5 separate regions of the Homo sapiens genome follow, and regions 1, 2, 4 and 5 are each linked to region 3. Evidence: promoter capture Hi-C in 16 types of primary human blood cells and fetal thymus (Javierre and others, 2016). All regions are on one chromosome and are shown on one strand. The core of a region is centred on a gene start or on the middle of the fragment in contact, and the rest is flanking DNA. Distances in the headings are between cores, read along the strand shown. Region 1 has its middle 4.0 kb from the start of RNASE2. Region 2 has its middle 16 kb from the start of METTL17. Region 3 holds the start of RNASE4 (ribonuclease A family member 4). Region 4 overlaps TEP1 (telomerase associated protein 1). Region 5 overlaps TEP1 (telomerase associated protein 1).

Region 1 (5,471 bases), core at 68-2,567, 270 kb before region 3:
CAGATTAGAAAATTGATATTAGACCCTTAAATGATATAATATACCTTCCAACAGTTAATCTACATAATTTTTACTACCATCCAATTTTCCTGTCATTTAGAAATGCAATAATTTTATCACTGGGGTCCTTAGGTAAATGTGGACACAATGGTGACCCAGTGAGGACTCAATGCGCAGCTAATATTGCTCTGCCTTGAAGTCCTCTTCTGGCCGACATTCATTAGCAGCTTTATCATGAAGCAAATTCTTTTTTCATGTATATTGTGTGGAGATCATTTTTGCAGGTGATGAGAATGTAAAGGTGAATGATACGTAGAGTATCCGCTCTGTGATGCTGACAGACACACTGGGTAGAAAGACTTGCACTCAAGTGTCTATAGTATGAGGCAAAAGACATAGACTGCAGCCCCAGGGCAGGTACCTGGCTAAACAGTGCCTCTTTTCAGCATATACAGTGCTATTTATAATGTTTGGTTTGGAAGGTAAAGTTTGACATTGGAATAGTTCACTAAAAGTTTTCATTACTGTCTTATCTTTAAAAATCACATGATGTTGGTTGGTGCACTGTGTCTCCGTTGCTGTGTGGTATCAATTAGAGCTGGGTAAAGCTGCCTCTGTGGAAGGGGCTCTAGCTCGGGGCTGTTCTCTGACTCCATCTCTGCCTCCTGACTTTCATCCTGTCTGTTCAGTAATGACACCTGCCTGGCTTCTGGAGACATCTGTGCTTATGACGCATCAGACTTGTTGCAGTGTCTTAAGAAATAACTCAGACCATACATAACCTGCCCAATTTGCAACCATATTCATCCTTTAAAATTGTGGTTTTTTTTTTTTTTTTGAGATGGAGTCTTGCTGTTGTTGCCCAGGCTGGAGTGCAGTGGCGCGATCTTGGGTCATTGCAACCTCTGCCTCCCGAGTTCTCCTGCCTCAGCATCTCGATTAGCTGGGATTACAGGCACCCTTCACAATGCCCGGCTAAATTTTGTACTTTTGGTAGAGACAGGGTTTCACCATGTTGGCCAGGCTGGTCTCAAACTCCTGACCTCAAGTGATCCGCCCCCCTGGACTTCCCAAAGTGCTGGGATTATAGGCATGAGCCACCACTCCTGATCACTAAAATTGTATTGAGAACATGCTCATAAGATTTTTCTGATTCTCCCTTGTGTAGATTTCCTGTGTACATTTCCAACTACTTTCATTTGCCTGCAGAACTTTAGAAAAGATCTACTTTGATATTTACGAGCTTTGGGAGAAGACTGTTTTATATGAAGCAGGAATAATAAAGTATAAGCCAACGGTAAACAAAATTCTCTGTGACTTCAGCATGATTTTGTCTTGAACAGACACAAGCCACTTCTCCCGGGTTCTTTATTAGCATAACTTGTCTTGCAGCCTAATTTAACGACACATTTTCAGACCCAATGCACACTTCCACTCAGAGGAATAGTCAGAATTATGCCCCAGTATTAAGTCATTTTTTGGAAACCGATGAACATTGTAAAATATTGTCCCAGACAAAGACTTCTCCATTTATGGTAAAAACCACTGTTGAGTACACTGCATTGATCAATGACTTTTTGCATAGCATTTATGTGCAAAAATATAATGTTTAACACTTGCAATTTCTTCAGCCCCAGGGTACCCTTGCAATATTTGCTCTTAACCTGCTGACAGGGAGGTACCAAACCATAGATACCTTCCTGCACACAGATTTCCCTAATGCAGCAGTGGCTATCTATGGGAAAGACAATGCACACTATTTATTAGGTTGGTGCCAAAGTAATTGCAATTTTTGCCATTAAAAGTAATACAAGATTGTCATAATAATATGGTGCAGGTTAAATTGCACCAAATTGAGTAATATTTTACTTACCTAATTTCTAAAGATATTTGGTGTACTGAGCTCTTCCTGGTCTCTTAAACCTCAGAAAGGTGGCCCTAGGCCTTCCCTCTTATGTGGGGCCTCCTGCATGTCTCCTCTGAAAGCCATTGAATAAGTAGATCTGACCCCTTCGATTAAGTTTCTGGCATGAAAGAGGAAAGAAGTAAGCCTTCTCCTTTTTCCTCAACTATAACAAGTCCTTTACTTCTCTGGAAAGGGAAGAAATGGGAATAGAGCCCCGATGGAATTATGGAGAGGTGTGTCTTAGGAGGGATGAAATAAAGTGTGTTTCCTAAGAAACTGGAAAATTGCATTCGTGTCCCATTGCATATTTTTAAAATCTTTCTTTCTTTCTTTTTCTTTTTCTTTCTTTCTTTCTTTCTTTCTTTCTTTCTTTCTTTCTTTCTTTCTTTCTTCCTTCCTTCCTTCCTTCCTTCCTTCCTTCCTTCCTTTCTTTCTTTCTTTCTTTCTTTCTTTCTTTCTTTCATTCTTTCCTTCTTTCTTTCTTTCTCTTTCAGATGGAGTCTCACTCTGTCACCCACGCTGTAGTGCAGTGGCAAGATCTCAGCTCACTGCAACCTCTGCCTACCGGGTTCAAATGATTCTCCTTTCTCAGCCTCCCGAGTAGCTGGGATTACAGGCGTGCACCACCACGTCCAGCTAATTTTTCTATGTTTGTAGAGATAGGGTTTCACCACGTTGGCCAAGCTGGTCTTGAACTCCTGACCTCAGGTGATTCGCACACCTCAGCCTCCCAAAGTGCTAGGATTACAGGCGTGAGCCACGGCGCCTGGCCTTATTTCTTTTTATTGATACATAATAGAGGTACATACTTTCAGGGTACATGTGATAATTTAATATATTCACATAATGTGTAAAGATCACATCGGGGAAACTGGGATATCGAGTACCTTAAATATTTGCCTCTTCTTTATGTTAGAAACATTCAAATTATTCTCTTCTAGCTATTTTGAAGCATACAGTAGATTATCATTAACTATAGTCATCCTCCTGATCTATCAAACACTAGGCCTTATTTCTTATATCATTTCTTATATTTGTACCCCTTAAACATCCTCTGTTCATCCCCATTGCATTTTGAGCACACAGATGCATTTGCTAAGATTTCAGAGCTCACACAAAATGAATTATTATATAGGTTAGTGTCTCTTTAAATGAAGTTGTTATATAAGTTTTGTGTTACAGCGATGTCGGGTATAGATTTTGTATAGTCTTGTCCAGATACCAGCTCTGACATTTTCTATTTGAGGCTCTTACTATAAGAGTTGTACAGGGCCAGGTGCTGTGACTCATGCCTGTAATCCCAGCACTTTCGGAGGCCAAGGTAGAGGGGTCACTTCAGGCGAGGAGTTTGAGACCTGCCTGGCCAACATGGAGAAATCCTGCCTCTACCAAAACCACAAAAATTAGGTCGGGCGCGGTGGCTCATGCCTGTAATCTCAGCACTTTGGGAGGCTGAGGTGGGCGGATCATGAGGTCAGGAGATCGAGACCATCCTGGCTAACATGTTGAAACCCTGTCTCTACTAAAAATACAAAAAATTAGCCAGGCGTGGTGGCACGGGCCTATAGTCCCAGCTACTCGGGTGGCTGAGGCAGGAGAATCGCTTGAACTCAGGAGGCAGAGGTTGCAGTGAGCCGAGATCACCTGCACTCCAGCCTGGGTGACAGAGTGAGACTCCATCTCAAAACAAACAAACAAACAAACAAACAAAACACACACACACACAGACACACACACAAATTAACCAGGCATGGTGGAGTGCACCTGTAATCCCAACTACTCAGGAGGCTGAGGTAGGAGGATCACTTGAACCTGGGAGTCAGAGTCTGCAGTTAGCCGATACTGCGCCACTGCCCTCCAGCCTGGGAGACAGAGTAAGATCCTGTCTCTTTAAAAAGAAACAACAACAACAACAAAAGAGTTGGACGGTTATTCATCCTTGCTATGCCTCTGTTTTATAACCTGTAAAATACAACAACACATACATTGGTTTGTAGGGGAAGTTTAATGTGGTAATTTGTGTGTGTGTGTATGTATGAAATAATTAAATATGTAGCATAAAACATTGCAAAAGGAAAAAAAAGTCTTGATGAGGACGATCAGTCTTATACATCAAGGTGTTAGCGTAGTTTCCATTACTGCGCTATCTTCTCTGTGGTATTTACGATGAGACAGTATGCTTGTTTCCTTTCCTTATTTCCCATAGTGAAGGCATTAGAACTAGAGCTCAGGTTTTTGTCTCCTTTTGATCAAGTGCTGCTTAGGTGGACAGCAAGTCATTTTGACAGGGCCGCTGTTTCTCAGGGACCCTTCCCAATCTGAGATAGAAGAAATCACGTTTTAACATCTTGCATTTAGTTGTGAAGTCAGAACAAAGGGAACTAGATCATCATGAAAACTAGGTTTTCCATCAATTTGGTGGTAAATTTGAGGAACTGTCTTAGCAAACAGTTAGAGCACCTTTTCATGATAAAAATGCAGTACTTGCATGATTTAGTCTCTTTTATACAGAATTTGATGAACTTGGCCAAATCATTGACCTTGAGCTTCATTTTTTTCTACTGTCCTTGGATCCTTTATTCTTCTGTGAAAATATTTTCCAAGGTAGAATTGTTTAATTTACAGCCATAGATGAAACTGAACACAAAATTATGAAATATGTACAACAGGTGGAAAGTGAAGTTACTGATGTTAGAAAGTACATGTAAATAGTAAAAATTGTTCACTGTTATGCATTTCTTTTAATGGGAGTGAATAATTAACACATTAGTCCATAATGTTATGCATATTATTGCTTAGGACCATGTTGTATAAATGCAAGAGTGAATAAAACAGATAATATTAGTCAATAGTACAAATGGAATGGGGGCATGGTCCAGGGATGCCTGATGTCTGGGAAACCCTGAGATAGAGAGTCGGGCTTGCCGAAGTCAATAGCCTACTTGCCTACATTTCTCAATTTGTGAGCGTTCATTTATTTCTCAACTATAGTCACTATGACTGATATTTTTTAGTAAATGGTACCTTTTCTTCAAAGGGATTCTTGGTCTCTTACCCTGTCAAGACATGCTCTTCCTTTGAAACCAGATATTTTCCTTCATGGAGCATCATCCCTTACTCCATCTCTTTGAATCTCCTATTTGGCTCACATCCTTCCCTTAAGAGGAACAAGCTTGGTTGTCCATCTAAAGTAATGGACTTAAAAAAAGATTAGAGTTTCACTTCACAAACTCTGCTATTCACCAACACGGGACCTCAAACAAGGCACTTATCTTCTCTTTTCTACCAGGGAAATGCTAACATTCTTTGTTTCTTATATCACAAATACACAAACTTAGTAAGTCTGGTGGTGGGACACCCTGCATCCTGAGCACAGGTGAAAGTCTACGGTGTCTCTAAAACAGTAGAAGCGAGGGTTACCTACAAGACAGTCCTGTTTTGAGCCTTAATAAAAATGCCTTGAATGAAATGGCGACCCCCATGTGGTGTTGGGTTCTTTCTTTTTTCCAATGCTTAGGGAAAAATTACAATGTATGTAAATGTTCAGTGATGCTGAGATTTTCTT
Region 2 (5,904 bases), core at 1,007-3,506, 290 kb before region 3:
GTAACTATCATGTAATCAGGTATGACAGAGGAAAATCATACCTCTGTCTAGGCCTTTGTAAGATCTTTTATAGACTGGGGGTGGCTAGCAAGCAAAGGTCACAAAACAGATTTCATCTCCTTCCTTTTTACCAAGTCCTGCTTTGGTTGACTTGAGATAGGTTAGTCATTGGCATTTATTTATTTATTTATTTATTTATTTAGAGATGGAGTCTTATTCTGTTGCCAGGCTGGAGTGCAGTGGTGCCATCTCGGCTTACTGCAACCTCCACCTCCCAGGATCAAGTGGTTCTCCTGCCTCAGCCTCCTGAGTAGCTGGGATTAAAGGCGCACACCACCATGCCCAGTTAATTTTTGTATTTTTAGTAGAGATGGGGTTTCACCCTGTTGGCCAAGATGGTCTTGATCTCTTGAACCCGTGATCCACCTGTCTCGGCCTCCCAAAGTGGTGGGATTACAGGTGTGAGCCACCGCGCCCGGCCATTGGGCCCTGTTTATTGGGAACACTTACTAAATCTGAGACACAGAAAACCACCTTTTTTTGTTTGTTTTTGAACTGGGCAGCCTCCTGAACCAGAGTGGGCTCAGAGAGACTCTCAGAGAATCACCTCCTGTTTTGTTTTTGTTTTTTTTTGAGAAAGAGTCTCGCTCTGTCACCCAGGCTGGAGTGCAGTGGCATGATCTTGGCTCACTGCAACCTCCGCCTACCAGGTTCAAGTGATCTTCATGCCTCAGGCTCCCAGGTAGCTGGGACTACAGGCGCCCGCCACCATACCTGGCTAGTTTTTGTATTTTTAGTAAAGACGGGGTTTTACTATGTTGGCCAGGGTGGTCTCAAACTCCTGACCTCAGGTGATCCTCCTGCCTCAGCCTCCCAGGGTGCTAGGATTACAGGCACGAGCCACCATGCCCTGCTGAAAATCACATTTTAATATACTACTTTATTCAAGGAATCAGAGCAAAAAGAAAAAACAAGAATTACTTTTTTTGTTAACTCCATGAAAAATATGAGGAACTGTCCTAGTAAACAATTTTGTCATTTTCACAATGATGAGTATATAGAGCCTGCCTGTTCAGCCTCTCTTTTGAACAGAATTGGATAAATATGACCAAATCTTTGGCCTTGGGATTCATTTTTTTATACTGTCCTTGGGTCTTTTACTGTGAAAGCATTTTCCAGGTGGAATTTTTTAAGTTAAAGTTCAAGATAAAGCTGTATGTGAAAAAATGAAGCATGTACAGCTGATGGTAAGTGAGATAGCCGATGTTAGGGTATGCAGATACACATTTAAAGTGTTCGTTGTTATATATTTATTTTAATGTAAATGAATAATCAGTACATCAAATCTGTGGTTAAATGAAGAATTGTTTGAGCCCGGGAGGTTGAGGCTGCAGTGAGCTATGATCCCACTACTGCACTCCAGCCTGGGTGACAGAGCACGACCTCGTTTCAAAAAAAAAAAAAAAAAAAACATATCAGAGTCTGACTCACAGCTCTGCTATTCACCAACCTTGTGATCTCAGACTCAGCCCTTGTTTTCTCTTTTCTTTTTTTTTTCTTTTCTTTCTTTTTTTTTTGAGATGGAGTCTCGCTCTGTCACCCAGGCTGGAGTGCAATGGGGCGATCTCTGCTCACTGCAACCTCTGCCTCCTGGGTTCAAATGATTCTCCTGCCTCAGCCTCCCGAGTAGCTGGGATTACAGGCACCCACCACCACACACCCAGCTAATTTTTGTATTTTTAGTAGAGACGGGGTTTCACCAGGTTGGCCAGGCTGGTCTCAAACTCCTGACCTCAGGTGATCCACCCGCCTCGTTCTCCCAAAGTACTGGGATTACAGGCGTGAGCCACCACGCCTGGCGTTTTCTCTTTTCTACAAGGGAAACATTAAAACCCTGCATGATACGCAAACATAAGCCTGATGGTGGGTGACCTTAGATCGTGGACACAGACGAAAGCCTGTATCAGCTCTAGAAAAGTATGTAGAGTGTTACCTACTGGACCATGTTGTGAGGCTTAATCCCAATTACCTTATGTGAAATAGGTGTGCCAAAGAGGGAGTGGCTTCCTTATTTCCAACACTCCTTGCAAAACCATGAGGGATAAACATTTTGAATGATGCTGAGATATTTTAGGCAGTAAAGCACTCATCAAAGTTTCCTCTTAGGTTTAATGACTTTTAGGTCTCCTGTTTTCCTATTAGATGAGGTAGGTGAAGCTGATAGAGACAGCTAAGGATGGGAATGACTACATTACTGTTTGCTGATTGATATCCCCCAGTGTACTAACCTCAAACCTAAATAATCTCAGAGGTGTAAGATCATCTTACTGTCTTCTGTGCTAACATTTTCTCTTGCTCTATTGAAGAAGGGAAAAGAAATAGGGATTTCTGTGTTGACTGCAATGTAATAGTTAAATGTTTTTCTTGATAGTCTTAAGGTAGCAACAACAGCAATAATAACATACATACATACATGTATATATAGGACAATAATTTTATTTTAGTTAATCAGGTGATTTTTTTCTGGATTTAGGTATAGTATTTTAAGAAAAACAGATCTACATAGTAAAAAATTTCAGAAATGTAGATTGCATTTTCCGTAGACATTCCTCTACACACACACACACACACACACACACACACACACACACACACACACTCCTTATGAGGGCTTCAAAGAACTACAAGAGTCCGAGCTAGAAGGAATTTGTGAGGTCCTTTATTCCAAGCTACATTTCATAGCTGAGGACCAGAATGGTAGTCCTCATAGAAAATTAGTGCTAGAACTGGGAATTAAACATATAATTCCTTACTATTGGGATTCCCTTAGTACTATGTGGCAGTTAAAAAAATGAGGTGTGTCTGTGTGTAAGCTGTGGAGCTCTTCAGGAGAATGTGCAGACTCAGGGTAGAGCGGGGAGGCAATGGTGTTGGGTGCGTCAGAGGAAGAAGGATGTGACAGAGTGAGTTCCTCAGGTGAGTACTTGGAGGAGTGAGGAGAGATGGGGAGAATGTGAAATCCTGAGGATCTGGGGTCTGGGATCAGGGGAAGGGAGCTTCCTTTCATCTGAAGGATGTAGATGCTCTCCTCTCCATCGCTTCACTCCCTCCTCTAGAACAAATAACACAGCTCATATGTGGACCCTCTTTCTAATCATCTCCTGGACAAGATTCTCTTCTTCTAAGGCCCAGCACTTAGAAAACCTTCTCAGGCTGGGCATGTTGGTTCATGCCTATAATCCCAGCACTTTGGGAGGCCGAGGCGGGTGGATCACTTGAGGTCAGCAGTTGGAGATCAGCCTGGCCAACACGGTGAAACCCCGTCTCTACTAAAAGTACAAAAATTAGCCAGGCATGGTGGCACACACCTGTAATCCCAGATACTGGGGAGGCTGAGGCAGGAGAATCACTTGAACCTGAGAGGCAGAGGTTGCAGTGAGCTGAGATTGCGCCATTGCACTCCAACCTGGGCGACAAATCGAGACTCCATCTCGGAAAAAAAAAAATCTTCTCAATGGACTCCTCAGCTCCATCAGTAGGAGTTATGAGGGTTGTGGGGGCACTCCTTGCATTGGAAGTAACACCTCCCACCCCAACAGATTAATATTCCACTCAGCAGTATTAGGCACAGTGGATAATTCCCTCCTTTTTGATGAGGATGACCTGAGAATGGGGCTTCTTGTGACAGGAATAGGGACGAAAAGCGTTGTGAGATCAGTCCTGGTTCCTCAATGCAGGCAGTCATGTCGAGGCTGCGTGATGGTCTCTGGGATGCCCCTGTCTCCTGGCTCTTTCCTTACCATCCAGGCCTTTCATTCTTAGGCTCCTCACACGTTTTTCCTCTTGCCTCTGGTAACTTGATGTTAGAGGTCCCCAGGAGTCAGTCATAGGTCTTCTTCTCTATCTGCACACTATCCCTTGGTGATCTTATCCAGTCTCAAGGTTTTAAATGCTGTTGATTCTCTAACAACTCCCAAATACATACTTCCAGCCCAGCTCTCTTGCTTTGGACTAGTACATCGGACTGTCTATTTGACATCTTCACTTGGAGGTCTAATAGACCCTTCAGACTTAACATGTCCCACATTAGCTGGGTGTGGTGGCACACGCCTGTAACACCAGCTACTTGGGAAGCTGAGGCACAACAATCGCTTGAACCCGGGAGGTGGAGGTTGCAGTGAGCCGAGATTGCACTGCACTCCAGCCTGGGTGACAGAGCCAGACTGTCTCAAAGAGAGAAAAAAAAAAGCTACCCATTGCTTCCCCCATTCTCCTTCCTGCTTTATTTTTTCCATAGAGCTTATCACCTTAACAGTCTGTGTAATTTACATATATGTTTATTGTCTGTGAGTATACATTATGTGTCTAGGTCACTAGAATGTGACCTCCGTGAAAGCAGAGATTTTTTTTGTACGTATGTCCTGCGTTCTCTGATGACTCCCATACCTCTAACCGTACCTGGCACATAGGTACTCAAGAAATGTTTGCTGAATAAGGCTCCTCAAATCAAGAGCCCCAGTAGGCCGTATGAATGCTGCAAAATAATTGTACTACAGGGACCCATTTGTGGGAATACTCACAGCACTAAAACCCCTTAGTTAAGAGGGATCTGAACAGCCTAAGAGGTTTCTGCCTAACTCCCGGCAGCAACTTCGCAAAGCACTATAGCCACCACACACTGTCCCTGAGATGTCAGAGTCACTGACGGATTTGGGCCCCAGGACAGCCTTTACCAGCTGCTGGTGTGGCCGAGTCTCCATCCACGAGTCCTAGACTGATAGGTTCACTAAGGTATGCAGAAAACCCCCACTCCTCATGTGACAAGTTGCTGGTGGCCCAACCCCCTCTTTATCAGTAGGAACTTCAGCGCTTCCTGACGATGCTTCCTTTCCGGAATCCTCACCCCTCTCTACTCAGCCCGCGGCCTCTCTCACTTCTACTCCAATGGCTGAGCGTCCTTGGCGGCAGAGCGGCACCAGCGGCCCTCGGCGATCCGCGATGACCGCAATGTGTAAGTGCGCCTTCCAGCCAGCAGAGGGCAGGAGCGGCTGCGGTGTCCCAAGCCGGGCTGGTGCGGGCTCCTGCCCGGCCCGTTTCTCTGCTGGTTCCACCTCTCCCCTCAGCTCCCCGCTTCTTCCAGGGCGGGAGTGAGGGAGGGGAGGAGGGCTGGGGGAGTGAGCGCGTGCGGGTGTGCGCGTGTATGGTGGTGCAGGGAAGCCTGTGCTTCGGGAAAGCTTTCCCGGGATGATGCTCTCTGGGCTCATGGGTCCGATTTGCCCACAGCAAATGTCTGTACTATGCAGACATTGAAATAGAATGAGGTCCACTCTCTTCCGATGGCGGGTCACAGGGTCCTGGGAAGGGGATCTGAAGCCCCTCCACCGAGCCACCTCGCTTCCTTTATGGAGATAATCCCCAGACTTGCCCTCACTGCTCTGGAAAGAGCTGCCTGGAGGTGGGGCAACTCCTCCCGCGCGGCCCCTTAAGTGCTGAGGCTGATTCCAGCCGCCGCCACAGTGGCCGGCAGGGGACGCTGCGCCGCCGAGACCCAGCGGGCCGAGAGGCACCAAAGCCGTGTCTCCTGGTTCTTAGCTGAGACGGACTTGAACTTCCAAAAGCCTCCTTAACCACCGAGGAAGCAGGAGAATGAAGAGGCTTCAAATAATGAGCGCCTGCTGTATGCCACGAGCTTTCCATTGCGGAGGTGGCTGGATGTGCAGAAGGAGGGCAGGGCGAGGAAGGAGAGACGGCTGCCCCACTCTCGGCCTGTCTGCCGCGGGCTGCAGGCTTGGGGTTTGGAGGTCAAGTCTATGCTGCATCGCTAGAGTAGTTTACAGTTGTGAAATTCAACTGTAAATTGAAATTCACAGCTTCGTTCTTAAACTTTCTATTACCAGGGACCAT
Region 3 (5,741 bases), core at 2,907-5,406:
AGGGACATGAAAACCAAGGACACTGCTCTTGAACAAACGAGGAGGGTCATTCACCTTTTCGCTGGGCATGATTGGGTTAGATATTAACCCACCTGAATGGATTAGAGATTTGTTCTGGAAGACAAAGTTTGAGAAACATGGCCTTCTGTCCAAAAGTTGCCCTTTTCTGCTGTCTGTGGTGCTTACTCTTGTTCATGGCAGGACTGAGGTTTCCCTATTCACACATAATAGTCTGGATCCATAAGATAGCATCTCTGATCTCCCTGGGCCAACTCCAAGAACTGCCTTGGAAGATGTCACAGAGTAAGATATGGTCTTCCAGTAGGATGCTTTTCCACTGTACTATTTATCATTTATCATATCACATCCTATTTATCGTATCACATCATTTGGTTTCATGAACGGATGCTAAGCACGTTATTCCATCGATTTCATACAGCCAGGAAAGCACTTCCAGAGAAGGTTGTGTGACAGCTATTAGTACACTGCCCCTCCCCCTACACTCAACTTCTCAGCTTCTAACCCCCAGAAGCAGGCTTGCCATGTTTCCTGGGTTTCTCCTTCTTCCATCTTTACCTGTCCACAAGAGACTAACCCTGAACATTCAATCTTCTGATCCTTGTAATGTAGTTGCAAAATTGCTTATCTCCATCATCAAAGCAGGGCTGTAGATCCATTGCTTGCGTAAAAACAGTGGGCCAAAGGTCACCAGGATCACCTTATAGATCTCATAGTTTCCAATATCAGACAGCAGCAGGGTACCAACTGTTTCACAGACCCCCAGCATTTGCCCACAGTGGTGTTGGATCTAGGACAGTGTTATCTTTTTAAAAATCCTCAATCCTCTGTTGTCACCCACCTAGCTGCCAAGTATTCAGTCTGGCTGCACTTGAGAAGGTGTCAAGAAAAGACAGGCTGCCTGCTAGTAAAACAAATGCACTTGAAATCACAATAATTATAATATTCAGTGCAATCTTTCATTTTGTGAAGCTCTCACATACATGACTACATTCAACCAACACCAGGACTGTGTGAGGTAGGCATTATGTAAATATGCTCTGCTCATGAGGAAACTCCAAGAACAAACAGCAGATGAATGGTGGAGTCAGACTTTGAACCCTTCATAAGCAAGGAGAAAACTGACCTGTCTTTCCAGGCTTAGCTCAAGCAACACCACCTCTGAGTCCCGAAAAGCGGTACCCTGCCACAGCATACAACCCATATGCGCCTGCACACACACAGCCCCATGGCCTGAAGCACCAATTCAAGCACCGACTCACACAAACAGAGCAGCCTCTGATTTTAGAGTTCTGCAGTAGTGCTGAGGTGGGGCAACCAGCAGCCTCTGAATATAGTTAGGTCCCTTCTCTGCCTCTGGGCCTTCACTGGACAACCTTTGGAGGATACACAATCTGCCCACAATGCAAAAAGACAGTTTTATGTTTTTCTTTTAAACTTGGCACAAGGAAGTTTTGTTGAAATGAAAAGTAGGGTTTGGGGGAAAAATTACTATTTCATTAGAATGCATCTAAGCACTTAGTCATTTGTGTTTAAAATACAACAAGGAATTATATTCTATGATTAAGGAACATCACATCTTTGTCAGTAATTTTAATACAAATGAAGGAATCGCCAATTGCAAAAAACCTCATATATTTTTTAAATGTTCAGACAGCTTTAACTTGAAAGTCATTCCCCTTTCCTGGAGATTTTTTTCTCTCTCTCCCTCAAGCCAATAATGTCCCTGCACACAGACACGGGATGCACGGGTCCTGTTTCCAAGGACCCTAGTGTTAGAGCACTTTCCTCCTTCATACAGAGTATATATGTATCATTCTGTCTTAGGACTAATTATAAAATTAGATGATGGGAAGAATGGACTAAATAATTTCTATATTTCTTTATTATTCTAACACTTTAGGTCTATAAGCATGAACTTATTCAATAACGGAAGTAACAGGTAAAGAAGGAAAAGCACACGTGGCAAGAAGAACCACGTCTCCAGGAAGAGGCAACACTACTGATTGAAGGACAGTGGGGACAAAGTCCTGCTGACATGCCTGTATTTCCAAACAAAGACAAAAATTAAACATTTGCTTTTCAACCAACTCTGGGCTTTGTGCCCACTCACTCTTTGTTCCCATTCCCTCTTTCCCAAGTATTTCATGGCATTCTTCCGGGAATAACTGTTTACAGAGAATTACAGAGAATCTGCTTAAATACAGATTCAATAAAAACTCCTAAAGAAAGGTTTCACTGACCTTCATTGGTCCACTTTTTTATCCAGCTACTTTAATTTGAGTCACAGTGACCAATGCTTCCAACAATAACTTGACAAACCTCTTACTCTTGCCTGCTTATAACCTGATTATCTGTTTTCAACAATAGCTAAAGCCATTCCTCTTTTCCTGGAATGATTTTTTCCATCCTCTCTGCCAAACGATAGTTCATCTCCACATTACTAGAGTGCCTCATGTCCTGTTACTAACATCGTACCACTCCATGGAGTCATAGAACAAGAGTGGGAGGGGCCTCTGAGACTCTGTCCACCCCTCATATTAAAGAAGAGCCAACTGAGGAACAGAGAAAGAGACATGTATTGCCCAAGGAACTCATTGCATTCGCCGGCCTGGAAGCTTTCCAATGCACCACACAATTTTTTTTTTTTTTTTTTTTAAGACGGAGTCTTGCTCTGTCACCCAGGCTAGAGTGCAGTGACGCAATCTCTGTTCACTGTAACCTCCGCCTCCCAGGTTCAAGAGAGTCTCCTGTCTCAGCCTCCCGAGTAGCTGGGGTTACAGGTGCTCACCACCGTGCCCGGCTAATTTTTGTATTTTTAGTAGAGACGAGGTTTCACCATCTTGGCCAGGCTGGTCTCGAACTCCTGATCTTGTGATGCACCCACCTCGGCCTCCCAAAGTGCTGGGATTACAGGCATGAGCCACCGTGCCGGGCCCACACAACTTTTATATTCCATACTAGTACTTTCTAGACAATCAGAGCTAACTTTAAAGGGGCCACTGAAAGTTGCTGTTCGAAGGAAACCTACATTGACTATTACCATAAATTCAAAAATTATTTTACTCTGCTTGTCATCAGTAAAAGAATTGCTTGAATTGAAGCGTATGTAATAAACCTATCCTCTTGCAAAACTTGTTAGTGGCTCTGTGGTTAAGTAAGTCTTGAATACCTGAGGCTGCTTCTGGGAAGGTGGTCCTGTGCCACAGATAATGATGTCCCTTGGGTTTCTACTGATTACATTATGACTTGATTATAAGATTTTTACTGTCACGAGGGAGGGTCTTGGCTCATCTGAGATTTCCCTAGCCCCCTGAGTGGTGCTGAAATTGTTTTAATAAAGATGTTGCGCTTTACTCATGTGCTGCTATTAGCATTTGACGTGCTGTCTCAGAGCGAGAAAACGGAGGATCCCAACCTTCCAGTAGGAAGGCTTAGAGAAGAGGCTGTTGGCAAGTGTCTCTAAGAATTGCACAACACTGGCTGAGGGTGGGTTAAGGGTGAGGAGGCAGAGGAGAGTAAACAGAAAACACCGATCCCCAAATGTTAGTTACGCTTGCAAAAAACTAAGGCCTGCTTCAAAAAGCTGGTGATTAGCCTGAATAACTAGCAAAGCTTTCTTAGTTGTGGGCAAGTGCAGGCCTCCTAGGGCTTCCCTTAGGTTCGGCGATTCTGTGGTCCCCCTCCAAGCCTACTAATCAATAGAAGCTGGCATCTGTGCCCAGCTGCGCAAAGTAAACCTGAGTGGGAATGTAAAGTCGTTAACTCATACAAATACGGGACTTTCACGTCCCTCCCCATTCCTCCCTCTCCAGCCCCGTCCCGCAAACTCCTCCCCAAGGAGTCCCAAGCTGCCTCTACTAGGAAAGGACTCCCCGGCCTAAACGCCCCTTATGAAGCTACCAGAGAGGAGGAGGAGGAGCAGGAGTGTGAACCTACCTCGGCCTCAGAACAAGTCCGCAGAAACGGGCAGGACAATGGAAAGAAGTTTTGTTTCTCACCCGCTTCTTCCTCCCTAGTACGATGATGGGGAGCCGGTAGAAAACGCAAAGATGTTCTTTTGAATCCTGCTTTGCATCTAGGTGGGGTTGGCGTCCTTGTGTGAGTGTGTGTACACGGACGGAGATGGGGGCGTGGTGAGGTGTGGAGGGTCGGCGTGCCAGCCTCTGCGTAGTTGGGACCGCGCCCCGCTTCTCCGAGGAGGCCCCTCCCGCCTGGATCCGCCCTTGGAGCTGGCGCCGCAGCAGCACCCGCCCCAGGGGCCGCAGGGGCAGCCCAGGCAAAGAACGAGCCTGGGATCCGCGCTCCTTCCTCAGCTGGACCCCAACGGGCAGCAGCCGCGAGAGCACTGCCTCCACGGAGAGCAGATGGCGGGAAACTGGCTTCTGCTCCCAATTGCCAGGCGGCCCTTCAGAGACTACCCCTGGCTGAGCGTCCAGGAACCCATGAAACTTGGTCTTGACACTGGTCGACAGCACCATCTGCCACGTACTTATTCGCTGCTGCTTTCTTTGGCAGGACAGCCCATCGCGAGACAGTTTGTGTTTCAAATTTAACGGAGACTTTTTTTCAGTAGTTGACAAAAGGGGGTGGAAAAACAGTAGCCACGAGGGCTCGTCCGGGATTTGAACCCGGGACCTCTCGCACCCAAAGCGAGAATCATACCCCTAGACCAACGAGCCACTGTAGCTGAGTGGTGCTTCCTATCACTCTGAATTTCTCTTTTCCGCCTGCTGTTCTGAAGGTTTTTTGTTTTGTTTCTTTTCCTCTGTTGTGACATTTCCCTTAGGCCTTATTTAGTTATTCCTTCCATCTTCACCAAGTTTCAAGTGTGGCTTATTCTCTGGCTTATTCTCCTCGATCCAGATGCAGGATGGGGTGAAGGAAGGCAGCTTTTTAGACTTTAGGTCACATGCTTGTGTCTCACTGAGCCCGGGGAGCGATTTAAGCCCGCTAGGGCCTGGAGGGAACCTGGAGGGGGCTGAAATAGAGATCGAGGGCCAGAGCTGAGCTCGGTTGCAAGGCTGTAGGGTACTGAGCCCCAGGACAGACGCGCGATACGTATATATCTGCCGGCCTTTGGACTTAACGTAGAAGCCAAAATATAACACACTTCGGTAAGACAACAGTGCCTTCCCCCAACGGTGGGACGATTCGGGTCTACTATCTTTCAGAAAGGTAACCAACTTTTCAAGACGCGATTAACGCAGCCCACCTCGCGGCTAAGCTGTTTCCTTCGGACAAGGGTGAGAGACAGAAACAGATTTGATCACGTCAAGATACAGAGATTTTTTGCACAAACGAAGAGCAACCGTAAACCCCAAAACAGCAGCGTCTCCTTCGAGCCGGAATCGAACCAGCGACCTAAGGATGACCACACATTAAGTACTACAGTCCTCCGCTCTACCAGCTGAGCTATCGAAGGAAGCACGGAAACAACTCTCCTAAAAATCCCTACTCGAGACATCCTTAACCAGAGACGGGAAAGAAAGAAATCTCTTTATACCCGGAAAGTAATTACTGCAGAGTCACAAAGCCAGCTTGTAAGACAGTCCTGCGTCCGAGGTTCTGAGGACAACCTTTCTAAATCTGGATTCCCCTGCCTCACTGAGGGGCTCCCAAGCAGAGCAGGCGCCCCTGAAACTCGGGCATACCGAGGCTGCTCATCCTCTGGGCGCCCGAGGGCTGTTGGCCTCACTGGGCGCGGACCCAGGGGCCTCGCG
Region 4 (6,001 bases), core at 1,590-4,089, 300 kb after region 3:
GGGAGTGCTATGAGGCAGAAACAGGACTCAGCATGCCTTTGCAGCCCCACGTCAGCCTTGGTGCTGGAGTCAGGAGCTCTCTACTTGAGGAGCTTCAGGAAATTACAGCTATGTCTGGTGGTTGGTGGAGGGAGGCTGGCTGGGGTCTGAGTCTATTCCAACTTTTGGGGTCTTTGGTGGTCAGCTCTGTGCCAGATGCCTGGAAATCTGACTTTGTTTCTGAGTCTGAAGAGGCCGCACGTCGGATCTCAGAACTGAAGAGCTACCTAAGCAGACAGAAAGGGATCACCTGCCGCAGGTGAGCTGAGGGAGGTAGGGAGCACCTGTACAGAGATGTGGTGAGAGGAGCCGGGCCTGCTCTGACCTGGTTGTGCTTGATTTGCCCACAGATACCCCTGTGAGTGGGGGGGTGTGGCAGCTGGCCGGCCCTATGTTGGCGGGCTGGAGGAGTTTGGGCAGTTGGTTCTGCAGGATGTATGGAATATGATCCAGAAGCTCTACCTGCAGGTCAGCAGAAGCACTGGTGACCAGAGGCATGGAGAGGGACATGGGGTGGTCTGGGTTGTCCTGGGGAGGAAGTAGCTTGGCGGGGGCTCTGTGAGTTTTAGCCTGGGAGTGCTGAGGAGCATGGCACCATGGATAGTCACTGACCCATTTACCCTCAGCCTGGGGCCCTGCTGGAGCAGCCAGTGTCCATCCCAGACGATGACTTGGTCCAGGCCACCTTCCAGCAGCTGCAGAAGCCACCGAGTCCTGCCCGGCCACGCCTTCTTCAGGACACAGTGCAACGGCTGATGCTGCCCCACGGAAGGCTGAGCCTGGTGACGGGGCAGTCAGGACAGGGCAAGACAGCCTTCCTGGTACAGAGTCTCAGGGGCCTGGGCAGGAGGGAGGGAAGGCTGTGTGGGCTAAGGAGGTAAGGCACAGGGAGCTCAGGCATGTAAAATGTGACCATGTTTTCTGTTCCTGTCCCATGCAGGCATCTCTTGTGTCAGCCCTGCAGGCTCCTGATGGGGCCAAGGTGGCATCATTAGTCTTCTTCCACTTTTCTGGGGCTCGTCCTGACCAGGGTCTTGCCCTCACTCTGCTCAGACGCCTCTGTACCTATCTGCGTGGCCAACTAAAAGAGCCAGGTGCCCTCCCCAGCACCTACCGGTGGGTATCCCCCAATGAGCCCAGCCTTGTTGATGCCCACGTACCACCCCTGCTTTTTTTTTCTCTCCCACTGACCCTGACTTCCTCTCCATGTACAGAAGCCTGGTGTGGGAGCTGCAGCAGAGGCTGCTGCCCAAGTCTGCTGAGTCCCTGCATCCTGGCCAGACCCAGGTCCTGATCATCGATGGGGCTGATAGGTTAGTGGACCAGAATGGGCAGCTGATTTCAGACTGGATCCCAAAGAAGCTTCCCCGGGTGAGTGTGAGAAGGAGGTGGGTGTCGGGAGGCAGGCTGGGGAGAAGGAGGGATACGGCACGGAGGAGAGAGGCCTCTCCAATGTGGTTCTCCTTTTCTTTCTACCTTCCTGCCCCTTTGCCCAAATATCACAGTGTGTACACCTGGTGCTGAGTGTGTCTAGTGATGCAGGCCTAGGGGAGACCCTTGAGCAGAGCCAGGGTGCCCACGTGCTGGCCTTGGGGCCTCTGGAGGCCTCTGCTCGGGCCCGGCTGGTGAGAGAGGAGCTGGCCCTGTACGGGAAGCGGCTGGAGGAGTCACCATTTAACAACCAGGTTGGGTTCTAGGCCGGGGCCGGTGGGTGTGTGGGGTGAATCTGGGAGCTATGAGGACCTGGGGTGCCGAGGCCGCTAGCTGCCTTGCACAGACCTGCTCCTTTGTTTTCTCAGAAATTCTGTCCATGGGAAGTTGTTAATAAGAAAATTGTGATTCCTGATCATGTCACCCAGCCCTCTTCCCCCGGTGAATGGCCTTTCCAGGGCCTCTCGGGGTGAGGGGATGAGTCAAGTGGTTTTTGGTGGGGTAGGCCGAGCCACAGGGGTTTTCTGGCAGGGCTGGCTGGGCAGAGCAGCGTAGGAGAGGGATGGTTTGTGTCCTGGGATGATGCCATGGACCTGGCGTCTGCTGGGGACTCTCAGAGGAGGAGCTGCCTGGCAGAGGGGCTGGTGCTGGGGCAGAGGGCTGGCTGCGGGCAGCCCTCCTGGACCCCACCCTGAGTCCTGAGTCTTGCCAGATGCGACTGCTGCTGGTGAAGCGGGAATCAGGCCGGCCGCTCTACCTGCGCTTGGTCACCGATCACCTGAGGCTCTTCACGCTGTATGAGCAGGTCAGTTCTCATCACCTTCCAAGTCCTAATCACTACTTCCCATTCTCTCTTCAGCTGCTTTGTCTCATCCCTATCCCACGTCCTTTGCTGTCTTGTGATCACCCACTCCCTATCCTCGCCTCATACCTCGCCTCACTTCCCTCCTACTGTTGTTCTTTACTTTTTCATTCCTCCACACTGTCCTCCTGCTGCCCCTTCCCTATCCCACAAGCCAAGCTGCTTCTCCTCCCACTGCACTGAACAAGGCTGTCCTCCCGCCATCCTAGGTGTCTGAGAGACTCCGGACCCTGCCTGCCACTGTCCCCCTGCTGCTGCAGCACATCCTGAGCACACTGGAGAAGGAGCACGGGCCTGATGTCCTTCCCCAGGCCTTGACTGCCCTAGAAGTCACACGGAGTGGTCAGTGCTTGGGGTGGGTTGGTTGGGAGGCTGAGGGCCAGGGTTCGGATTACATTGGTTCCCTTGGGGTCTCAGCAGGCAGTTCAAGGAGAGACTGGGTGTGGTGGGGGCGGGGACACCGTATGGTTAGATGAGGGCCTCAGAGAGCTTGAGTTTTCAGGTTTGACTGTGGACCAGCTGCACGGAGTGCTGAGTGTGTGGCGGACACTACCGAAGGGGACTAAGAGCTGGGAAGAAGCAGTGGCTGCTGGTAACAGTGGAGACCCCTACCCCATGGGCCCGTTTGCCTGCCTCGTCCAGAGTCTGCGCAGGTACAGGTGCCCCAGCAGAGCTCCCGCTGACCTCTCTGTGCCTTCCCTTCTTTGAGCCGGGGCCCTCTGTATAGCTTCAACAACTGGCTCCCAGACCATGAATGAGCTACTGCTCCAGCTGCTCCAGTTTCCGCTATTTGAGGGGGGAATAGGAGCCCACTGTGTGCCAGGAAGCTCACTGACAGGCCTCTTCCTTCTTCTCTCTCCCTTCCTCACACGAGGACAGTTTGCTAGGGGAGGGCCCTCTGGAGCGCCCTGGTGCCCGGCTGTGCCTCCCTGATGGGCCCCTGAGAACAGCAGCTAAACGTTGCTATGGGAAGAGGCCAGGGCTAGAGGACACGGCACACATCCTCATTGCAGGTGATTGCAGCCCAAGTCAGCCTGGGCACTGAGTGTGGGGCTTGGGCCTGGAGGCCAGGACCACCCACTGTGCTCCCATCTGCTGGCCAGCTCACCTACTGCCCTTGGGAATGATGCAGGGCTGAGCCTTTCTCAATATCTGTTCATGCAGCTCAGCTCTGGAAGACATGTGACGCTGATGCCTCAGGCACCTTCCGAAGTTGCCCTCCTGAGGCTCTGGGAGACCTGCCTTACCACCTGGTTAGTTCCTAGACCCCATAGACACCTTTCCCAAAGTGAGTGCTTTGGTTGCTCTGAGACCCCTCTCCCCGTTACCATCTCCACCATCACCGCCGCCATTACCCCTCCCAAACTCCCTTGACCTCTTTCCTTTCAGTTTTCCTGCCCTTCTTCTTCAAGTCCTTTGTCCCAGCTCAGATCCTATCTCTGTATCCAGGTTCTGAGACTAAACTGTCCCTTCTCACCAGCCCCTTCATATCCCTAATGAATTCAATCTGACCTTCTCAGCTCCAGAGCGGGAACCGTGGACTTCTTTCGAAGTTCCTTACCAACCTCCATGTGGTGGCTGCACACTTGGAATTGGGTCTGGTCTCTCGGCTCTTGGAGGCCCATGCCCTCTATGGTGAGATGAGTCACTGGCTGGGTTCTTCTCTGAGATATGGGACTCCTGGGTGTGCTTATGGGGGCCCTGCTCAGGGTTGGGGCAGGGGTGTGGGTGTCAGGGAAAAAAGATTCAAATTTCCATTTCGAGTTGAAAATGCCAAGAGGGTGAGCACGTGACTCTCAGGAGACCTTTCACCTTGATCTCTTGGACCAGAGATTCTTCAACTTTATTTAGTTAGCATAAAACTATCTAGGAAACTTGTTCAAATTGCAGATCCTTGGGTCTCCATATTCTGGTTTCCTAGGTTTGGAGTGGGGCTCAAAGCTTTGTACTTTTAAGAGATATTCCTGATATAGGGCCAGAGGGCCACACTTTGAGACTTACTATTGTAGACACACCATATGGTTTTATTTGGTGCTGGGGCTAATGGGGTCCAGCTGGCTCCCCAGTGACATTCTGCCACCCTTTTATAGCTTCTTCAGTCCCCAAAGAGGAACAAAAGCTCCCCGAGGCTGACGTTGCAGTGTTTCGCACCTTCCTGAGGCAGCAGGCTTCAATCCTCAGCCAGTACCCCCGGCTCCTGCCCCAGCAGGCAGCCAACCAGCCCCTGGACTCACCTCTTTGCCACCAAGCCTCGCTGCTCTCCCGGAGATGGCACCTCCAACACACACTACGATGGCTTAATAAACCCCGGACCATGAAAAATCAGCAAAGGTAAGACCTTGACCCCAGACCCTAGTAAGCCCACCAGAGAGCAAGCTGCAGCTCTTTCTGAAACTGAGGAATAAGGATGACCAGAAACACTGGAGAGGGATCCAGGCACAGAAGCACATAAATCAACTCCTGTTTGCATTCTCTCGTTTATTTCCTCCCTTTCTTCCTACTCTTTCTCTAGCTCCAGCCTGTCTCTGGCAGTTTCCTCATCCCCTACTGCTGTGGCCTTCTCCACCAATGGGCAAAGAGCAGCTGTGGGCACTGCCAATGGGACAGTTTACCTGTTGGACCTGAGAACTTGGCAGGTATGACAATCAAGGAGGGGCAGAATTTACCCTCTGAAAATCCATGCAGACTGCCCTGAAGCCCTAGATGAGCCAAACACACCTGTTATCACTCTGATTAATTCAGCAACTTTACTGCCTGCACATCAGCTCAAAGGGCTTGGCCAAAAAATCAATCACACAGCAAATATTTGCTGCACACCTTCCATTTAAGGCACTGTGCTAAGCGTTGCAAGAAACACAGGATTTGGGACATTGTCATTGCCCACCAAGTGGTCAGTTTTGTTGGGAGATAAGACATACGAGGTAAAAAAGGAACCAAAACATAGCCATGTAATCTAATTAAGACATGAGTGAGTTGTGCAGCTATAGGAGGACATAGGATAGAGAAGGGCAGGCACTCTTGTTTGAACAAGGAACCTGAGCAAAGACACAGGAGGGGAATGTTCCTGGTAAATTTGTAAATTGCTGGGAATTATGGCAGCACAGCGTGCTTATGGGAGGCTAATAGTACATTAGGCTGGAGAGGTGAGTCCTAGAACCACAGCCTCTTTCTATCCTCTTTACACTCATGTCATCCCCTACCCCATGTAACCCCATTTTCTCAGACCCATCAAAATTTTCTGTAACTTGGGGAATAGGTATGGGGTTTGGAGTAGGGGAGAAAATGTGGCCCCACTTGGATCACGAGGCCCCCACTTGAACGTGTGCTTGACTTGGAACATAGAGAGCCAAGGACTCATGGCCTTTGTGCCTTGGCCTTCTTTTTGGGTGGGGCCTGGAGTGGTGGGACTTGGAGGGTCAAGGGGATGGCCTGAGCTGCGCTCCCTCACCCACTGTCGCAGGAGGAGAAGTCTGTGGTGAGTGGCTGTGATGGAATCTCTGCTTGTTTGTTCCTCTCCGATGATACACTCTTTCTTACTGCCTTCGACGGGCTCCTGGAGCTCTGGGACCTGCAGCATGGTTGTCGGTAAGGGGTCCTCCCCATTTGTCTTGGAATGAGGGCCTTCCCCATTTTTTGGAAGCCCCAGGAGAAGGAAATGAGGAGGGAGCT
Region 5 (5,603 bases), core at 1,671-4,170, 290 kb after region 3:
TCAGATACCCCTCCAACCTACAGCTCTTTTCTCGAAGTCGCCTTCCTGGGCCTTGGGATTCTAGCAGAGCTGGGAAGAGGATGAAGCTGTCTAGGCCAGAGACCTGGGAGCGGGAGCTGAGCCTACGGGGGAACAAAGCGTCGGTCTGGGAGGAACTCATTGGTAGAGTGACCTTGACCATCACATTCCCTCCTTCTCTTCCCCATTTATGCCTCCACATTTTAGATCCTCACTAGAAGATTTCTGTGGAATGATGAAGTTATTACTTTGCCTGGTTGTTGTATTTGATTTATAAGGTCTGCCATTGACTACACCAAAGTAAACAGTGGTACCTGCTTTGAGTAATGTTGGCATCATAGATCATTATACCAGATGTAGTTAGGTGATGTACAAGTTTTTATCAACATATGACAAAAGTACCTTCTCTCTCATTGTACTCATATCGATATCTCTGTAACTCATTCCAAAAAAGGTAGGACTGGCACATGGCATATTGGAATCTGTACAGAACCTCATATTGTATTTAGGACATGGAAGTTTTAGGTAATTTGCCCACATTGATACAGAAAAAAAAAAAGTCAAATAGAGGAGGATCAAGTTATCTTCAGTTTTCTCTTTCTCTGTTTTTTTTTTTTTTTTTTTTTTTTTGGTCTACTTTTACCTATAGCAGGCTCTTTCTTTCGTTTTTTACTTTATAAAATTATTACTTTTCTTTTTAAATTTTAGAGACAAGGTCTTTGTAATGTTGCCCAGGCTGGTCTCAAACTCATGGCCTCAAGCATTTCTCCTACCTTGGCCTCCCAAAGTGCTGGAATTATAGGCATGAGCCACTGCACACACACACACACGCACCCACACACAAACACACATACACACACACACCTGCCCCCAGTTGACAGCCTCTTCTTCCCTGATGGTTGAAACCACTTGGGGTGGAGTAGAATAAAGGGGCCTGGATAGAAGCCGGTATATGTAGATAATTCTTTTTTTTTTTTTTTTTTTTTTTTTGAGACGGAGTTTTGCTCTTTTTGCCCAGGCCGGAATGCAATGGCGCAATCTTGGCTCACTGCAACTTCTGCCTCCTGCCTCAGTCTCCCGAGTAGCTGGGATTACAGGCGCATGCCACCATGCCCAGCTAATTTTGTATTTTTAGTAGAGACGGCGTTTCACCATATTGGCTGGTCTTGAACTCCTGACCTCCAGTAATCCACTCGCCTCGGCCTCCCAAAGTGCTGGGATTATAGGTGTGAGCCACCACGCCCAGCCATATGAAGATAATTCTATATGCACCCATCTCCACTTCCTCCCTCTGGTTGAGAACCACTGTCCCTGAAAATGTAAGGACATGTAAATTTATTCTTTTAATGTCATTTATCCTGGTTGAGGCAAATGCCCATAGTCTAATCCCGTGGTGGCTAGTGTTTCTTTTTTTTAATCATATACTACAAAAACAATTTTTAGGATACACCAGAATATATGTATATGTACTTTTTTTTTTTTTTTTTTTTTTTTTAAGAAACAGGGCCTCACTTTGTTGCCAAGGCTGGTCTCCAATTGCTGGGATTACAGATGTAAGCCACTGTGCCCAGCCAAAAATAAATATAAATAAATAAAAGGAAATATAAAAAAAGATATAAGTATAAAATATAAGATAAAATGTAATTGGATATACAGAACCCTTTTTGAAGACCACAGATCTCATTAATAACTCATTAACATTTTTTTGGAATGAAATTAGTGAATTTTGCAATCTTAAGGATAAATGTCCAGTTTATTTTCTAATATCACCAGTATGATATTGGACTTAATTTCTTACCGAAAATGATCTAGAAAACCTTTTATACATAGTAACAGTGGAAAAAACTTGAGTCGACAATGGATGCAATAGTTCATTTATAGTACATATACAACCTAATTGTTCCATACAGTTTGTGAATCAGAATTATGACTGGAGGCCAGGCACCATGGCTCACGCCTGTAATCCCAGCACTTTGGGAGGCTGGGGCGGGCAAATCACTTGAGCTCAGGAGTTTGAGACCAGCCTGAGCAACATGGTGAAACCCCGTCTCTAACCAAAAATAGAAAAATTAGCTGGGCATGGTGGTTGATGTCTGTGGTCCCAGCTGCTTGGGAGGTTGAGGCAGGAGGATTGCTTGAGCCTGGAAAGTGGAGGTTGCAGCGAGCCAAGATTGTGCCACTGAGTGACAGAGACAGACTCCATCTCAAAAATAAAAAAAAAAAGAATGATGACTGGAGAATCCCAAGACTTCCAGAGGGCTGAAAGCTTCCAGCTATAATTCAAATAAGACTTACATCCCCTTTACAAAGGGAGCAGCATTTACCTGATGAAGCTGCTGATGGTGTGGGCTGGTGCACAAGGCATGGTGACGGACTGACCGGCCTGGCCTCTAAAGTGGTTTGAATGCACCTCTGTCCAGGAAAAGAAAATCACACCTCCTATTTATGTTTACTTTTATCTAAAAGAAAAGAATTTTCCCAGTACTTACCATGCAGATTGAACCCACATAGTCACTGAATCCATATGATACAGTGTTATGTGTTACGTGTAATAGTTGAGGTTTTCTGAGCATCCACAATCTGAGGGCATTAATGTCACCCCTTCACTCTTTTTTTTTTTTAATTTTGGTTTCTATATAATTTGACTTATAGCAATTTATCTTTCAATTGTAGATGGATTTGGAATTATATTATTCAGTATTAACCAAATTAACTGTCTAAAATTGATATAAACCTTTTTTTTTTTTTTTTGGGCGGAGTCTCACTTTGATGCCCAGGCTGGAGTGCAATGGCGCGACCTCGGCTCACTTCAACCTCCGCCTCCCAGGTTCAAGTGATTCTCCTGCTTCAGCCTCCTGATTAGCTGAGATTACAGGCGACCACCACCACGCCCGGCTAATTTTTGTATTTTTAGTAGAGATGGGGTTTCACCGTGTTAGCGAGGATGGTCTTGATCTCCTGACCTCATGATCCGCCTGAGTCGGCCTTCCAAAGTGCTGGGATTACAGGCGTGAGCCACTGCACCCGGCCTAAAATTGATATAAACCTTAAAAATATTATTATTAAGAAACTATGGGCTGGGCATGGTGGCTCACGCCTGTAATCCCAGCAATTTGGGAGGCCGAGGCAGGCAGATCACTGTAGATCGGGAGTTTGAGACCAGCCTGGCCAACATGGTGAAACCCCGTCTCTACTAAAAATACAAAAATTAGCCAGGCATGGTGGTGAGCACTTGTAATCCCAGCTACTCGGAGGCTGAGGCAGGAGAATTGCTTGAATCCAGGAATCAGAGGTTGCAGTGAGCTGAGATTGCACCACCACACTCTAGCCTGGGTGACAGAGTGAGACTCCGTCTCAAAAAAAAAAGAAAAGAAACTATGGCTTGAAGATAATATTAATAACACAGGTACAAGGGAACAATAAGGAAGTGACAGAGGTCAGTGGTGAAATTCTATCTCCAGTGCAAATCTTTTTCACCTATATTTAAGCAAAAAAAGTAATGACTAATCAAATAGAAGAAATTGGGTGAGAAGCTTACAAATTATGAAGACTATTTCAAATATGGATTTACATACATTCGTCATTATAAATGGTGAACTTTTTTTTAATTTTTTTTTTGGAGACAGAGTCTTGCTTTGTCACCCAGGCTGCAGTGCAGTGGCGTGATCTCGGTTCACTGCAACCTTCGCATTTTGGTTTCAAGCGATTCTCCTGACTCAGCCTTTCGAGTGGCTGGGATTAGAGGCACCAGACACCACGCCTGGCTAATTTTTGTATTTTTGTAGAGACGGGGTTTCATAAATGGTGAACCTTCTTTTAAATGGATATTGTGCCTTGAAATATTAACTAATGAATGTGCTACATTATGTTAGTATATACTTCATAAATCAACTTACACTACGAAATTTCTCTTTTGGCCATCTAAAAAGTTTAGAAACCTTTGCTCTAGACTAGATAATACATTTTGCCAGTTGAACCCAATCTTAGGGCTAGAGCCAACAGATTAAGTGGTAACATAACAGCCATCCCATAAACAGTGTTGCATAAATTTTGTTCCAAACTTTGGGCCAACCCTGTTTTTAATCTTTCCAAGCCTTTAAAACATTTTGAGTAGGGTAGATTGTATGTGAATTCCTCACTTCCTCTATCTTGGACTTTCCACATGCCTGGTTTCTGAACTTCTTGCTCTGGTCTCTGACCTCTCTCTAATCATCCCTCATTTGCTTTTTTTTTTTGAGACAGTCTTGCTATGTTGCCCAGGCTGGACTCTAATTCCTGGGTTCTGGGCTCAAGTGATCCTTCTGTCTCAGCCTCCTTGGTAGCTGAGATTATAGGTGCATGCCACTGTGCCTGGCCTTCTCATTTGTTTTTCTCACTCTATGCCCCACATTCCACAGAAAATGGGAAGCTTCCCTTCATGGCCATGCTTCGGAACCTGTGCAACCTGCTGCGGGTTGGAATCAGTTCCCGCCACCATGAGCTCATTCTCCAGAGACTCCAGCATGCGGTATGTGTGAGGGGCTGGTAGCCATGGGGCCCAGCAACTAGATGTGCACGTGGAGAGGCCACTGCTGCTTTAGAGGCCAGGCTTTTTCAGGGGGCAGAGGCAGGTACGGCCCTCAAGCTGTTTCCATGTGGGCTGTAAGTAGATCTGGGAATACAGCTAGGTTGAGGGAGATAAGTTTTGGGGTTCAGTAAATCCTTTGAGAAGTTACAGTAGAGTATAAGAACTTTCATTTTAATTTTCTGAGCTCAGTGACTTACCAGGAAGAGACACTTGTGTGATGTAACTGATTTCAGAAGGAGTCTTTGTTTTTTATTTATAGAGATGGGGTTTTGCGATGTTGGCAAGGCTGGTCTCAAACTCTTGAGCCCAGGCAGTCCACCTGCCTAAGGCTCCCAAAGTGCTGGGATTACAGGCGTGAGCTACCACACCCTGCCCAGAGGGAGTCTTAAAAGAAACGGGGCTCCTTCTGTTACTTTCTCTTCTTTTGTTACCTTTTCTCACATCCTAAAATGATGACTTTTTTCTTTCTTCTTATTACCCCTTTTCTATATCTCTTGTCTAAGTTCATTTTGTCCTTCTGTACCTTCCCACAAAGCTAATAGAGTGGACCCCTGAAGCCCCCCATACTCCCGGCTCCTGTGCTCATGACCCCTCCCTCCTTTGCTTTCTAGAAGTCGGTGATCCACAGTCGGCAGTTTCCATTCAGATTTCTTAACGCCCATGATGCCATTGATGCCCTCGAGGCTCAACTCAGAAATCAAGGTATTCTCCCCTTTCTTCCAACTCCTCTTTGCCTCCCACATCTGACAATAAATGAAGCAGCAGCACCAATATTTTTAGCCTCTTGCTTTGCAGTCTCAGGGTGTATCGGGGTGGGGGGCAGAGGTCAGGCACTTGCCAGCCCCAAGGGTTGGGGCTCAGGTCACATTACTGGTAGGAAAAGATGAGGGAATAGAAGCTGCCTAACTCGGAAATTTACCTGTCATCATACAGCATTGCCCTTTCCTTCGAATATAACACTGATGAGGCGGATACTAACTAGAAATGAAAAGAACCGTCCCAGGCGGAGGTTTCTTTG

The links. The method cuts DNA at HindIII sites, captures the fragments that hold promoters and counts their contacts. A CHiCAGO score of 5 or more calls a contact.
Region 1: a fragment that was not itself captured here is called in contact with the fragment with the promoter of RNASE4 in region 3 in 5 of 17 cell types (monocytes, fetal thymus, M2 macrophages and 2 more); the score reaches 8.7 in monocytes.
Region 2: a fragment that was not itself captured here is called in contact with the fragment with the promoter of RNASE4 in region 3 in 17 of 17 cell types (fetal thymus, erythroblasts, naive B cells and 14 more); the score reaches 17.4 in fetal thymus.
Region 4: a contact is called between a fragment that was not itself captured here and the fragment with the promoter of RNASE4 in region 3, in 15 of 17 cell types (naive CD8 T cells, M0 macrophages, total CD8 T cells and 12 more). The highest score is 9.7, in naive CD8 T cells.
Region 5: a contact is called between a fragment that was not itself captured here and the fragment with the promoter of RNASE4 in region 3, in 15 of 17 cell types (M0 macrophages, naive B cells, megakaryocytes and 12 more). The highest score is 14.5, in M0 macrophages.

What each region holds. Positions count from the first base shown.
Region 1 is chr14:20,948,749-20,954,219 of GRCh38, reverse strand. No RefSeq gene overlaps it. Among named protein-coding and RNA genes, the nearest start is that of RNASE2, 4.0 kb to the left of the region's middle. The HindIII fragment of the contact is 7,527 bases long and covers 1-5,080 here.
Region 2 is chr14:20,970,713-20,976,616 of GRCh38, reverse strand. No RefSeq gene overlaps it. Among named protein-coding and RNA genes, the nearest start is that of METTL17, 16 kb to the left of the region's middle. RefSeq lists an enhancer at 4,816-5,505. The HindIII fragment of the contact is 5,961 bases long and covers 1-5,236 here.
Region 3 is chr14:20,682,975-20,688,715 of GRCh38, reverse strand. RNASE4 (ribonuclease A family member 4) reads right to left here and starts at 4,156. Exons shown (of 2, transcript NM_002937.5): 1 at 3,958-4,156. It overlaps TRY-GTA5-5 (tRNA-Tyr (anticodon GTA) 5-5), which reads right to left and starts at 5,443; the gene lies at 5,355-5,443. It overlaps TRP-TGG3-2 (tRNA-Pro (anticodon TGG) 3-2), which reads right to left and starts at 4,700; the gene lies at 4,629-4,700. It also overlaps a transcript of ANG not described here. RefSeq lists enhancers at 3,865-4,004, 4,805-4,934, 5,075-5,264, 5,465-5,741 and silencers at 4,235-4,354, 4,625-4,674. The HindIII fragment of the contact is 4,966 bases long and covers 3,636-5,741 here.
Region 4 is chr14:20,378,897-20,384,897 of GRCh38, reverse strand. It overlaps TEP1 (telomerase associated protein 1), which reads left to right. Exons shown (of 55, transcript NM_007110.5): 22 at 185-298; 23 at 390-507; 24 at 666-860; 25 at 980-1,155; 26 at 1,254-1,410; 27 at 1,545-1,724; 28 at 2,183-2,275; 29 at 2,542-2,674; 30 at 2,835-2,985; 31 at 3,212-3,345; 32 at 3,497-3,585; 33 at 3,853-3,967; 34 at 4,423-4,663; 35 at 4,845-4,968; 1 more. Among named protein-coding and RNA genes, the nearest start is that of TEP1, 32 kb to the left of the region's middle. RefSeq lists a silencer at 5,162-5,362. The HindIII fragment of the contact is 2,872 bases long and covers 1,404-4,275 here.
Region 5 is chr14:20,395,543-20,401,145 of GRCh38, reverse strand. It overlaps TEP1 (telomerase associated protein 1), which reads left to right. Exons shown (of 55, transcript NM_007110.5): 9 at 5-162; 10 at 4,416-4,525; 11 at 5,197-5,287; 12 at 5,519-5,603. Among named protein-coding and RNA genes, the nearest start is that of TEP1, 15 kb to the left of the region's middle. RefSeq lists an enhancer at 1-517. The HindIII fragment of the contact is 1,267 bases long and covers 2,287-3,553 here.